Linked DNA regions of Homo sapiens: region 1 is linked to region 2. Evidence: promoter capture Hi-C in 16 types of primary human blood cells and fetal thymus (Javierre and others, 2016). All regions are on one chromosome and are shown on one strand. The core of a region is centred on a gene start or on the middle of the fragment in contact, and the rest is flanking DNA. Distances in the headings are between cores, read along the strand shown.

Region 1 (6,180 bases), core at 2,119-4,618, 1.1 Mb after region 2:
TGTCAAGGACATGGATATCCCCCCAGAGCCTCTAGAAGGAACACAGTCATGGCAACAGCTTGGTGTTAGCCTGGTGAGATCTATGGCGGATCTGACTCACAGAAATGTAAGAAAAGAAATCGGTGTTGTTTTAAGCCACTAAGTTTGTGGTAATTTGTTATACAGCAATAGGAAACCAGCACATATGGTGTTTGTGGTATTTGTCATCACTGTAATATTGGTAATTACTGAAATCATGTGATGGTTAAAAAAACACAGACCCTGGAGCCAGACAGACTGGGTCAACCTCCCACCATCCCACTCACTAGCCAGGCTCCTTGGGACAAGTTAACCTAAGAGACTCACTAAGTTTCCATCCCCTCATCTGTAAGAAGGTGGTCATCGTGCTTACCCCCAGGGTTGTACTGAGAATAACATGAAATAATATGAGGAAAGTATTTAGCACAGGGGCTGGCACAGAGGGGGCCTTCAGTACAGGTGAGCCCCAATGAGTATTATCATTGTTATTTGTGGGATTATTTGTTTTCCCCTTGGGGTTATAAGCTCCGTGAAGACAGATACCATGACTTTATTGCTCATGGCTATATTTCCAGGAACAAGCACAGAGCTTATCAGAGCAGGTATTCAAGGAAGAAATGAATGAATGGGTCTATCTGTGAACTACTGACCCAGTGTGCCCCACGAAATATGCTGGGCAGCTGCTACCTATGCAGGCATTATGCCAAGTGCTGACCAATAGAAAAGGGGAGGGGAGCGTCTCTTATTTTCTAAAACCTTTCAGCAGCCCAGGGTTTCCAACACATATATACAGGGTGACAACACAAGACAGCATGGACCAAATGGTACAAGAATGTCAAAGCAGGGGGCACTCTAGAGGTAAGAAGATGAAATGGTGACATTATCTTGGATGGTCTAGGAAGCTTTCCTGGAGGTGTGAGATGTGAGTGGGTCTCTGACTCTACGTGAAGTTTCTATTGGATGGGAACAAAGAAGACAAAACATTCTGGGGGTCAGTAAGTGGCATTAGCAAAGGTACAGAGACAGGCAGGTTAAAGGTCCTCGAAAGTGTCATTTTGACTTAGATTAAGAATTAATGCCAAGGACTAGGAGACATGAGCCTGTAAGAGAAACGTTTGGGTTGGTTTTTAGGTGGTCCTGGATGCCAGCTAAGGATGATGGATTGCCCCCTAAACAGAAACGAGGGTCAGTGAAGATATCTGATCCAGGGCATAACAAACTGCAACAAGTCTACAGGGTAATGGCAGCACTGGGCCAAAGAGCTGTCTGTGATGGTGAATACTGAGCGTCAACTTAATTGGATTGAAGGATGCAAAGTATTGTTCTGGGTGTGCCTGTGAGGGTGTTGCCAAAGCAGATTAACATTTGAGTCACTGGACTGGGAAAGTCAGACCCACCCCCAATCTGGGTAGGCACCATCTAATCAGCTGCCAGCACGGCCAGAATAAAAGGCAGAAGAACATGGAAAGACTAGACTGGTTTAGTCTTCTGGCCTCCGTCTTTCTCCCATGCTGGATGCTTCCTGCCCTCAAACACTGGACTCCAAGTTCTTAAGCTTTAAGACTTGGACTGGCTTCCTTTCTCCTCAGCTTGCAGATGGCCTATTGTGGGACCTCACCCTTGTGACTGTGTGAGTCAACACACCTTAATAAACTCTCCTCTCTATATACATCTATCCTATTAGTTCTGTCCCTCTAGAGAACCCTGACTAATATGCTGTCCTAACACATCATGTGCTGATTATTCCTCGTTTTAAAAAATTGGAGAACAAAATGATCAGATGCTGATCTTCATTTTGAAAACCTCTTTTGAATGTGCTGCCTCCCTGGTATGATCTGGATGCTTGCCAGGGTGGTCTGGAGACCTCAGTCTGTTTGCTCTCCCGGGAAAAATCATGGTCACCCACTGACTTCCTCTTTTCTCACAAATAGAGGACAAGGTAGTTCTTCTGTTGTAGGTTTCATCGGGAATTTATTAATCCCCCTCCCGGAGGTGTTAGCATTTCAGTCTTGTGCCCAGCCATCTTGCAGTATTGAGAGTGGAATACAGGGTAAGTCATATCCTCAACAGTCCTTGCCAAGAACACCAAAATCTTAGCCTGTGGGTAATAATCTAAGTCTTCTTAATCTAAGTCAAAATTACCCTTTCCATCTAAACATAATACCAGCCTCTCTAAAAAAGGGCAAGCTGACCCGGTGTGGTGGCTCACGCCTGTAATCCCAGCACTTCGGAAGGCCGAGGTGGGCAGATCACCTGAGGCCAGGAGTTCAAGACCAGCCTGGCCAATATGGTGAAACCCTGTCTCTACTGAAAATACAAAAAATTAGACAGGCATGGTGGCAGGCGCCTGTAATCCCAGCTACTCAGGAGGCTGAGGCAAGAGAATTGCTTGAACCTGGAGGTGGAGGTTGCAGTAAGCCAAGATCATGCCACTGCACTCCAGCCTGGGAACAGGAGCGAAACTCCGTCTCATAGAAGAAAAAAAAAGCAAGTTTTGTCCCATCAGGGGCTGACGCAGACACAGGGACCAAAGCCCAGCCACCTCCTGGGACTCTCTGCTGTCAAACAGGAAGGTACAGATCTTTCTCCACCCATGCTCTGTGATGCCAAACTCTATTATAAAACATTTACTGGAGAAGGGTATCAAACGGGAATTTATTTCTATCACAAACAGCACTCAAATATTTCCCAGATAGTTTCTGCAATCAGTCATGTGCACCTTTTCAAAGTTTTAAATGTTTCCAAACTTTTTGGAAATGTATAGTGATTGATACAGGCCTTTAAGTTTAGTATTACTGCTCATGCCACATTTTCACCTGATTTCCAGTCTTTTGTGGTATTCTTGATTGGTAAGTCATTTGATTTTATCTTTTATTAAGGGCCTTTGAATTTAGCACAATGCTGAAATGATTCATCAATCATAATAAAAGACTTCAAAGGGATCCAAGCTAAACTTCAGGATTCTGAGGAGCATACTGGACAGTGAACTTATTGTATTTCAACTTCAGGACAATAAGCCTGGTGGAGGATTTTGCTCTAAAGACATAATGAGTATGTTAGTCACATCTAAAAATCATCTGCTGTCCGCATGTTCAGATTCATATATATGTGTATATATATAAATATAATATACACACATATGTGTGTGTGCATTTCATCTGACATTCATTTATTCTGTAGCAAGATATGTTTTAGGCTATTCTTTTCTACTGATCCATTCCCTGAGCATCAGAGGTCACTGTAAATGAAAAACAAGGTGAACTCCCTTGGGTGGGAGCCATGCTTGGCCAAATCCAGAGAAACTGTGTGGTGCTTAATTCCAGCTTAGTCTACATAGGCCCTAGTTTGAAACATAAAGTTGAAATCCATCAAGCAATTGTTTTCAAATCAACATTTCGGAAACATTTTTCAGTCATACTTACATGAATTCAAAATGTTTTCAAAGTATTGAGTGTTTTGCTGTATTACATTTGTAAAAAGGCAAAAGATAATCAGTGTGTGTTGATAATGTTAATAGAGATTTTAGAAATGATGATAGTGAAGTTTAAAAAAGGAACACCAACCAAACATAAAGAACTCTCTTTTCAAAATATCAATTTAAAATACAGGATCTCCCATGGCTTACAATGGACTCAGTAGTGAGGCACACAAACAGCAGTAAAACACATCTCTAAGGCATCCAGAAGAAAATAGATAACTAAATATCCATAATGCTGGCCAGACTGTGATACATAGCAAAATAGAAGTATTTATTCTGTAGCAAGAGATGGAGGCTGCAAAGGAAAATGCACTCTGTTCTCACTAGGGGAATCTGGAGGCTCTATACATGGTAGTTTTAATTTTTTTTTTTTTTAAACACCAGGCTGGAGTGCAGCGGTGCTATCATGGCTCACTGCAGCCTCGACCTCCAGGGCTCAAACGATTCTGTCATCTCAGCCTCCCAAGTAGCTGAGATTACAGGCGCCCACCACCACACCTGGTTAGTTTTTGTATTTTAGCAGAGTTGGGGTTTTGCCATGCTGCCCAGGCTGGTCTCCAACTCCTGGGCTCAGGTGACCCATCCATATTTGATTGTATCTTTTATTGAGGGCCTTTGAATTCAGCACAATGCTGAAATGACTCATCAATCATAAAAAAAGACTTTAAAGGGAACCAAGGTAAACTTCAGGATTCTGAAGAGCATATGGGACAGTTTCTTGTATTAGACTCCATCTCCAGCCTCCCGAAGTGTTGGGATTACAGGCATGAGCCACCATGCCTGGCCGGTAGTTCCATTTAAATTAGCTCATAAAAGGTAGGTAAGATTTCAACAACCAGGGAAGAAGACCTCAGTCAAGAACAATATGGCCATAGACTAAAGGCGTGAGACTGGATGGCACAGCTCTGAGGCAGGGTGTCTGGGGACTGAGAGCACCTGTTGCTAAGGTGATAAATTAAGATCAGATTGTAAATAGCTCCAAATGCCATGCTAAAGTGAACATTTCTCTGCAGGACACGGGTCCGGAGAAGGTTTTGAACAAAGCACTTTAGACAGATGAATCTGAGGGTAACCCTAAAGACAACATGGAAGCTGGAGAAAGAGGAGGAAAGATTCTCTAAGAGATAAATGCACTGGCTTACACAAAAAGCAGGTGGGCTTACACCTGGAAGGTAATGATGGAAACAAAAAAGAATAACCAAAATTCAGTAGTATGTCAATATCTGGTAACTGACACCATCTGGAATGAGGGGAAATGATTCAAGACTTTCCAACTGGGACAGGTGGAGAGAGAGGGGTGTAATCTAGGAAGATGGAAAATGCAAGAGCAAATCAGATTCTGAAAACAATTAAGTAATTCCTGATTCCTTTCAAATAAAAGGTGAGGCCTGATGTGAGTCTTAAAGTCTTAAAGTTCACTGGTTAAAGGGAAAACAGTGGGGGAGGGAAGCACAGTCCAGCAGGATGCAAACAGGTGAGCAAAGCCACAGGTTAGAACATGGAAGCTGTCGAGGAAGGCAAGAAAAGGGGAAGGAGGCATAAAGCTGGGCCACGTGCCAGGACCAGTGAGAGGGTGACCATGAAAAATCAGTAACAAGATCGGTGACCACTTAGACGTAGAGGATAGAGGTGTGGGGGCAGGGTGGACTGAGAAAGTCTCTCAGGTTTCAAGCTTAAGTGACTCCAGGGCTTTTGTGCCCACATTTAAAACGGAGAATAGATGTGAACAATCAAGGAAAAATGACTGATGCTGAGTTTAAGGCACCTGGGAGACGGGGGATAATTGCTTCCCAGAGACAGAGGTGCAGCGCCAAACCTGGGGAAAGGAAGACCCAGTTTAAAGATAAAAGGGTTGTTACCCTTTAGACAGCAAATAAAAACACGTGTGTAGCTGGTATCACTTTGAAAAGGGAAGAAGGAAAGCCCACAGATCTCTCTACAGACAAGACAACCAACGACTAAAAACCATTTAGATTAAAAGAAAAGAAATAATCTTACAGTAATGTTGTAAAGAGGTATTAACATCAAAAGACTAACTAGAACTAACATCAACAGCAGAAAGGACAATTTATAGCCTTATTCATTAGCATGCTGCTTACTGTTCCACTGACAATTTTAACCACCGGGTTAAGCAAAATCTTTGCCTTCCTTTTTTTTGCTTTTTGAGACGGAGTCTCACTATGTCACCCAGGCTGGAGGGCAGTGGCACGATCTCGGCTCACAACCACCCGGGTTCGAGCAATTCTCCTGCCTCAGCCTCCCGAGTAGCTGGGATTACAGGTGTGCACCACCACACCCAGCTAATTTTTGTATTTTTAGTAGAGACGAGGTTTCACCATGTTGGCCAGGCTGATCTCGAACTCCTGACCTCAGGTGATCCACCTGCCTTGGCTTCGCAAAGTGCTGGGATTACAGGTGTGAGCCACCATGCCCACCCAATCTTTGCCTTTCATTAAAGTCATGAATTTCCTGCCATCAATGGAAATGTCTTTTGATGACCACATGGATATCAGGAGCGATGCATCCTGCTTTCTGTCCCCATGTTCCAGTGCAATCAATGTTTTACACATCAAACATTCCAGTGGAGAATGGAACTCGTAGAACAAATTAGAAAATATTCATCTAATGATCTATCCAAAGATAAGGAAGGTCTTGATACTACAATTCTGTTAAATTCTGTTAAA
Region 2 (5,493 bases), core at 2,071-4,570:
CTTCTAATACCCAAAAATGTGTCGCATCCTCCCAAAGCTCGCGCTCTCCCTGCAAACCCTGGGCCAAGCCTATTATTATTGTATATATTTCACTAAATCAATCTTTTAAAATTCTACTTAACATAGGTGCCCAGCCTAATGGTGGCCATCTTTTAGAGGAGGAAATAAATGTTCAGAGAAGTCAAGTTCCTTGTGCAAGCGGGATTCGATACAGGGGACACAACCAAGAGACCTCTGAGTCCCTCCACACATCCATGCTGTGTGTTGACTTGCTTACAAGAGTCCCCTGTGTCAGAGGCTGCCTGGCAGTGGGGACATGAGCCTTTCCCTTAGAGGGAAACATGAGATTGGGCAACAAGGGTAGTCCTCAAGGTTCTACCTCGAGACTCCAGGACGCTGGACATTGGAAATGAGGCCACACCCTGGAGGAGCATTGTCGGCTAAAGCCAAACACCATTAGCGTCTGAAGGGGATGTGGGACCCATCTAAGGTATCACATCCCTGATCACCCACCATGGGGTCTGCAGCTGGAGAGGGTCCCCCCAGGAGGGGCTGGAGCGGGGAGTTCTCTGCCCTGGGAGGCAGGTCTCCTGGCCCTTCACTGGAGTGATCTCTTCTTTTCTGATGTCAAATCCTGATCTAAAGGGAGGCATCTTCCTTCTTATGGCATGGCCATGTCTCCTGTGTTCCTTCCTCAAGCCAAATCCTTTTCCACGATGCCTTCCCCTCTGAGCCCTGTATAACCCAATAGTGCAAATATTCCCACATCCCCTACCCACAACAGGGGTGAGCACATTGCAAATGTTCCGCCGGCGAATCAGCACCTGCCTGGAGGTGTTCTTGGTGTCTGCGTCCTGCCTCCAGTACAGAGGACCTCAAATCCATGATACTTCACCTGGTGCTCCCCAGGAAAGCCTGGCAGAGGACCTGACGATTCCCAGCAAGACCAAGCACTGCTGTCCAGGGTCAGCCACGGTCACTTCTCTGCAGCTGTCATCCGGGCACAATCTCCAAATATTTCTAGCCATTCAGACGTTCACTATAATCAGAATTAACGCATGTAGAACCAAAGAGCCAGACACATGGGTTCAAACCTGCCCCACCATTTACAGTGAGAGCTTAGTGAGTCACTTAACCTGTGCCTCAGTTTTCTCACCTGTAAAAAGAACATAACAGTAACAATACCATTGAGCTGCTATGCAGTGGATGAGCTTCTATATGAAAGGTGAGTGAAAAGTGTCTGGATGTGGTGGTGTCAACCTTTCCCTGGGGTGGTGGTGGCTGATCTGTGGCACCCCACATGACAATGTCTTTGCCATGGCAGTAGATGCTGTTAAATCAGGCCCTGGGTTTGTCTTGGCTTGACTTGTTTCCATTTTCAATTGAAAATTAAATGTGGATAGACTTCAGCCTGACTCGGTCTGCTCCCTGGACCTTGGCCAGTGAGTTCTGAGTAACTGCAGACAGGGTGTGGTCACCGGGATTTGGTTATTGGATTTTTTTCCCCCTGTGGTTTTGGGCAGGTTGCTCCATGACGGGCAGCTGTATCGTCTTAGAACCGGACTTTCCGGGAGAGCCTTTGGGTCACTCTGGGCGTCAGCTGGAAAGGGCTGCTCTTGGAGCAAGCTCACTGGCCCACAGGAGGAGCTGCCTTCTTGAACTGTCACCCTGAAGCCAACCAAAGTCTGGGCAACGCCAGCTCCAGTGACTGCCGCTCCATCTCCTAGGCAATTTGCATCGCTGTTTCTGTTTGTTAGGCCTTGACCATTCCTTTGTTGTCATCCTGCGCTTCCCTGGCCATAGGCCTTTTCCCAGCCCCACCACGGCATGCCCACCTGTGCTTGGGGAGGGGCGGAGGAAGGAGCCCCAGCCAGCCATGTCCCTGTTTCGTGCTCCAGTGACCACTGCTATGAGGACTTTCCCACTGGCTCAGGCTCAGTTAGTCGAGCTGGTGTGCCCCGCTCTTAGCTGTTCCCCAACTCTCCTAGAGTGTGCTAATTCTGACCCAGCTCTCCCAGGTGGAGGATGCTTTTCAAACATGTCCTTGGGAACCTCTGCAGACCCATTCCCAGCCCATTCTCCATGATTCCAGGCCTGGCCAGGTTGAAAACTTCTGTAAATTAAAACTCAAATAAAGAGAGTATAGCTTGGGCATACCTTTTGCACATGCATATATATGTATGTGTGTGCATGTGTGTGTGTGCATGTATGTGTGTGCATGTATGTGTGTGCATGTGTTGGGATTTTTTATTTTTTAAATTTATATTTATTAAAAAAATTTTTTTTGAAACAAGGTCTTCTTCTGTCTCCCAGGCTGGGCTGCAGTGGTGTGATTATGGCTGACTGCAGCCTCAAACTCCTGGGATCAAGCAACCCTCCCACCTCAGCCTCCCAGAGCACTGGGATTACAGGTTTGAGCCACTGCACCTGGCCTATTTAAAAAGTTTGTCTAGAGCAAAAAGTCCCTAGACCTGCCAGTCCAGGGCACTAAATCACAAGAACACCAAGGCCAAACAGGCTTGAAGTCTCCAGGCTCCTCACTGGCAAACTCTACTTCCTGATCCCTTAGTGGGTTGAGGTGCCAACAGCCCCCTGGGGAGGAGGGGGTTGCATTATGGCCGTGGAGAGACTCTGAGCCTTATCAACGGTGTGGGGATGACACCCTTTTCGGAGCACTTTGTGAGGCTTTGTGCCATGCTGGGCGCTTGGCGTCAGAGACAAATAGAATCAATAACTGTGCAAAAAAAGTTGCCAGATAATTTATCCCATTGGCACCGAGCCTAGAATTATAATCAGATCTTGACTTCTTCAAAGCCTTCTTGCTTTGGATTTTCCAAATCGAAAATAAATATTGGGGGCAATTACCTTTCCTTAGTTCTCTGATGTATGAAGGGGAGTTTTCATCTATTAATTTAAGAACCCTCTCATTTCATTCGGAAGGTATTAGCCCATGGAACTTGTTAACTTAATATCAACACAGTCTGTCTAGGTTTTGACTGAAAAGAGAAAGGGGTTGTTATGCTCTAGGTTAATATTTTCCTCTCTTTAAGAAGTCTTGGGTATGCCAGACACTTCTCGGACAAAAACAGCTGTTTTCTTCCCATTGCTGAACGCATTGTTTGTGCGAGTTCACTTACTTGCTATACTCAGAATATCCTCCAGGAGTCAGCAAATCCCAACCTCTGGACGTGGCTCAGGGCCGCCCTGCCCATTGCTGAGCTGATTTGGAATTTGGGCCTGAGAGAGGAAGTGATTATTGGATGACAGGCTGCCTCCTAGGGGGCTTCTCTGGGCTTGCCATGAAAGCACTTCCGGAGGAAAAGCAGAGCTCCATCAGTCTCTTTTGGAGAGCTGTGAACGTGACCAGACCTATTAATTACTTAACTGAGGTGCTGAACTTTGAAAATGAAAGTTCCGGTGGGGAGTTCTGTCCTTTCCAGCCTGGGGAGCTCTGTCAGGGCTCTCCTGAGCGTCTCTTTCAGCTTATCAAGCTCGCTCGGGGACCGTCTCTGGTAAGTACAGGCAACCCCTCCAGCCAACCCCTCCACCCTGTGGGCCGGGGAAGTGTCTCATCGTTGAATCCACTTGCAGGCACTTCCTTGATCTCAAGCCCCACCACGCTGCCCCCAGAGTCCCAGCGAGTGGCTCAGTCACACTGGTGCGTGCCTCTCACCCGCTCTGACCTCGTCATGGGGTCCCCGAGGTGCTGGTTCATGCAAGGCTCTGTGCCTAACCAAGCTAAACACGGTGGGGCTGGGAGCAGAGGCTCACACCTGTAATCCCAGCACTTTGGGAGGCCAAGGCAGGTGGATCACCTGAGGTCAGGAGTTTGAGACCAGCCTGACCAACATGGTAAAACCCCGACTCTACTGAAAATACAAAAATTAGCCAGGCGTGACATCATGCGCCTGTAATCCCAGCTACTCGGGAGGCTGAGGCAGGAGAATCGCTTGAACCTGGGAGGCGGATGTTGTGGTGAGCCAAGGTCGTGCCACTGTACTCCAGCCTGGGTGACAGAGGGAGACTCCATCTCAAAAATAAATAAATAAACAAACTGGTACAGTGCCCTAGTGGCTTTGTGGCTCTGGCTGGGGGAGGAGGGTGGGTTGCATAACTGAGCAGCACCTCCAAGCACGATACCAACACTGCCCAGGGCCTGGCAGAGTCTACAGCTGGTCCTTATCCATGAAACTGGGGGTGAGGGGACGGGGACTGGCGGGGGGACAAATCACCTGCACAAGTGGAACAAAGATACAGGAGATAATGACAGCAAATGGAACGTAGAGTTGATGCGTTCATTGACAAAGAATTTCACACCCTGCATTATCTCACTTGAGCCCCATGAAGAGCCTGTGAGGTGGCTAGGGATGTGGAAGGAGTAGATAGGAGAGGCACAGAACAGGGGAAGGAAGGAGTGGGGCTGGGAGTGAGGACCAGGAAGGCAGAGCTGGCCCCTGGACAGGAAGAAAGCCCAACTGCCTCCCTCCCTCCCATCTGCCCTCCTGCCTGCCCTTTTCCAATAAGATGGAAATGCTGAAGGGGTTAAAAAGACAGCATTCTAAAAGCTGAGATCCTAAAATTGTGACCTCCCCTGTGATCTTAGCCTTCGTGTCAACAGCATTGAAAATGAACCTTGGTCGGGCACGGTGGCTCACGCCTGTGATCCCAGCACTTTGGGAGGCCGAGGCGAGTGGATCACCTGAGGTCAGGAGTTCAAGGCCAGCCTGGCCAACATGGTGAAACTCTGTCTCTACTTAAAAAAAAAAAAAATTGCCGGGCATGGTGGTGGATACCTGTAATCCCAGCTACTTGGGAGGCTGAGGCAGGATAATTCCTTGAACCCAGGAGGCAGAGGTTGCAGTGAGCTAAGATTGTGCCACTGCACTCCAGCCTGGGCAACAAGAGTGAAACTCTGTCTCAAAAAAAAAAAAAAAGGCAAAAAGAAAATGAACCCCTGGGAAAGTAGGCCTTGACCACTCTGCTGCTCTTATGGAGTTCATTCTTGGAGATGTCGTGAATAGATCTCCTTTGCATCCAGATGGAAGAGCAACAGGAACATTATTAAGAAACTAAAAATTCTAGATTCATTGGAAAAGGCTTTGAGAGAGAAGGGACAGGGAAACCCCTAATTCCACCTCCCTGAAAACAGTGTGTTTTCCTCTCCTACACCAGGGCCGTGTGTCTTTCTGTCTACGTGGCCCAGCCACATTTGTAGCCCGTGGCCTGATGGAGCTCTGATGAGTCAGTTTCATGTCATTTTTTTTTTTTTTTTTCAGAGAGAGAGTCTCACTCTGTCACCCAGGCTGGAGTGCAGTGGCATGATCTCGGCTCACTGCAACCTCCGCCTCCTGGGTTCAAGTGATTCTCCTGCCACAGCCCCTTGAGTAGTTGACGTTACAGGCACCCACCACCGCACCCAGATACTTTTCGTATTTTTAGTGGAGACGCTGTTTCACCATGTTGGCCAGTTGGTCTCGAACTCCTGACCTCAAG

What was found. The method cuts DNA at HindIII sites, captures the fragments that hold promoters and counts their contacts. A CHiCAGO score of 5 or more calls a contact.
Region 1: a contact is called between a fragment that was not itself captured here and the fragment with the promoter of LINC01426 in region 2, in 8 of 17 cell types (monocytes, total B cells, naive CD8 T cells and 5 more). The highest score is 7.3, in monocytes.

Annotation. Positions count from the first base shown.
Region 1 is chr21:35,824,227-35,830,406 of GRCh38, forward strand. No RefSeq gene overlaps it. Among named protein-coding and RNA genes, the nearest start is that of MIR802, 110 kb to the left of the region's middle. The HindIII fragment of the contact is 3,595 bases long and covers 1,572-5,166 here.
Region 2 is chr21:34,742,505-34,747,997 of GRCh38, forward strand. LINC01426 (long intergenic non-protein coding RNA 1426) reads left to right here and starts at 3,321. Exons shown (of 3, transcript NR_038885.1): 1 at 3,321-3,512. LOC107985515 (a long non-coding RNA gene) reads left to right here. Exons shown (of 3, transcript XR_001755016.1): 3 at 127-1,434. RefSeq lists enhancers at 3,200-3,701, 3,702-4,201, 4,408-4,702. The HindIII fragment of the contact is 11,220 bases long and covers 1-5,493 here.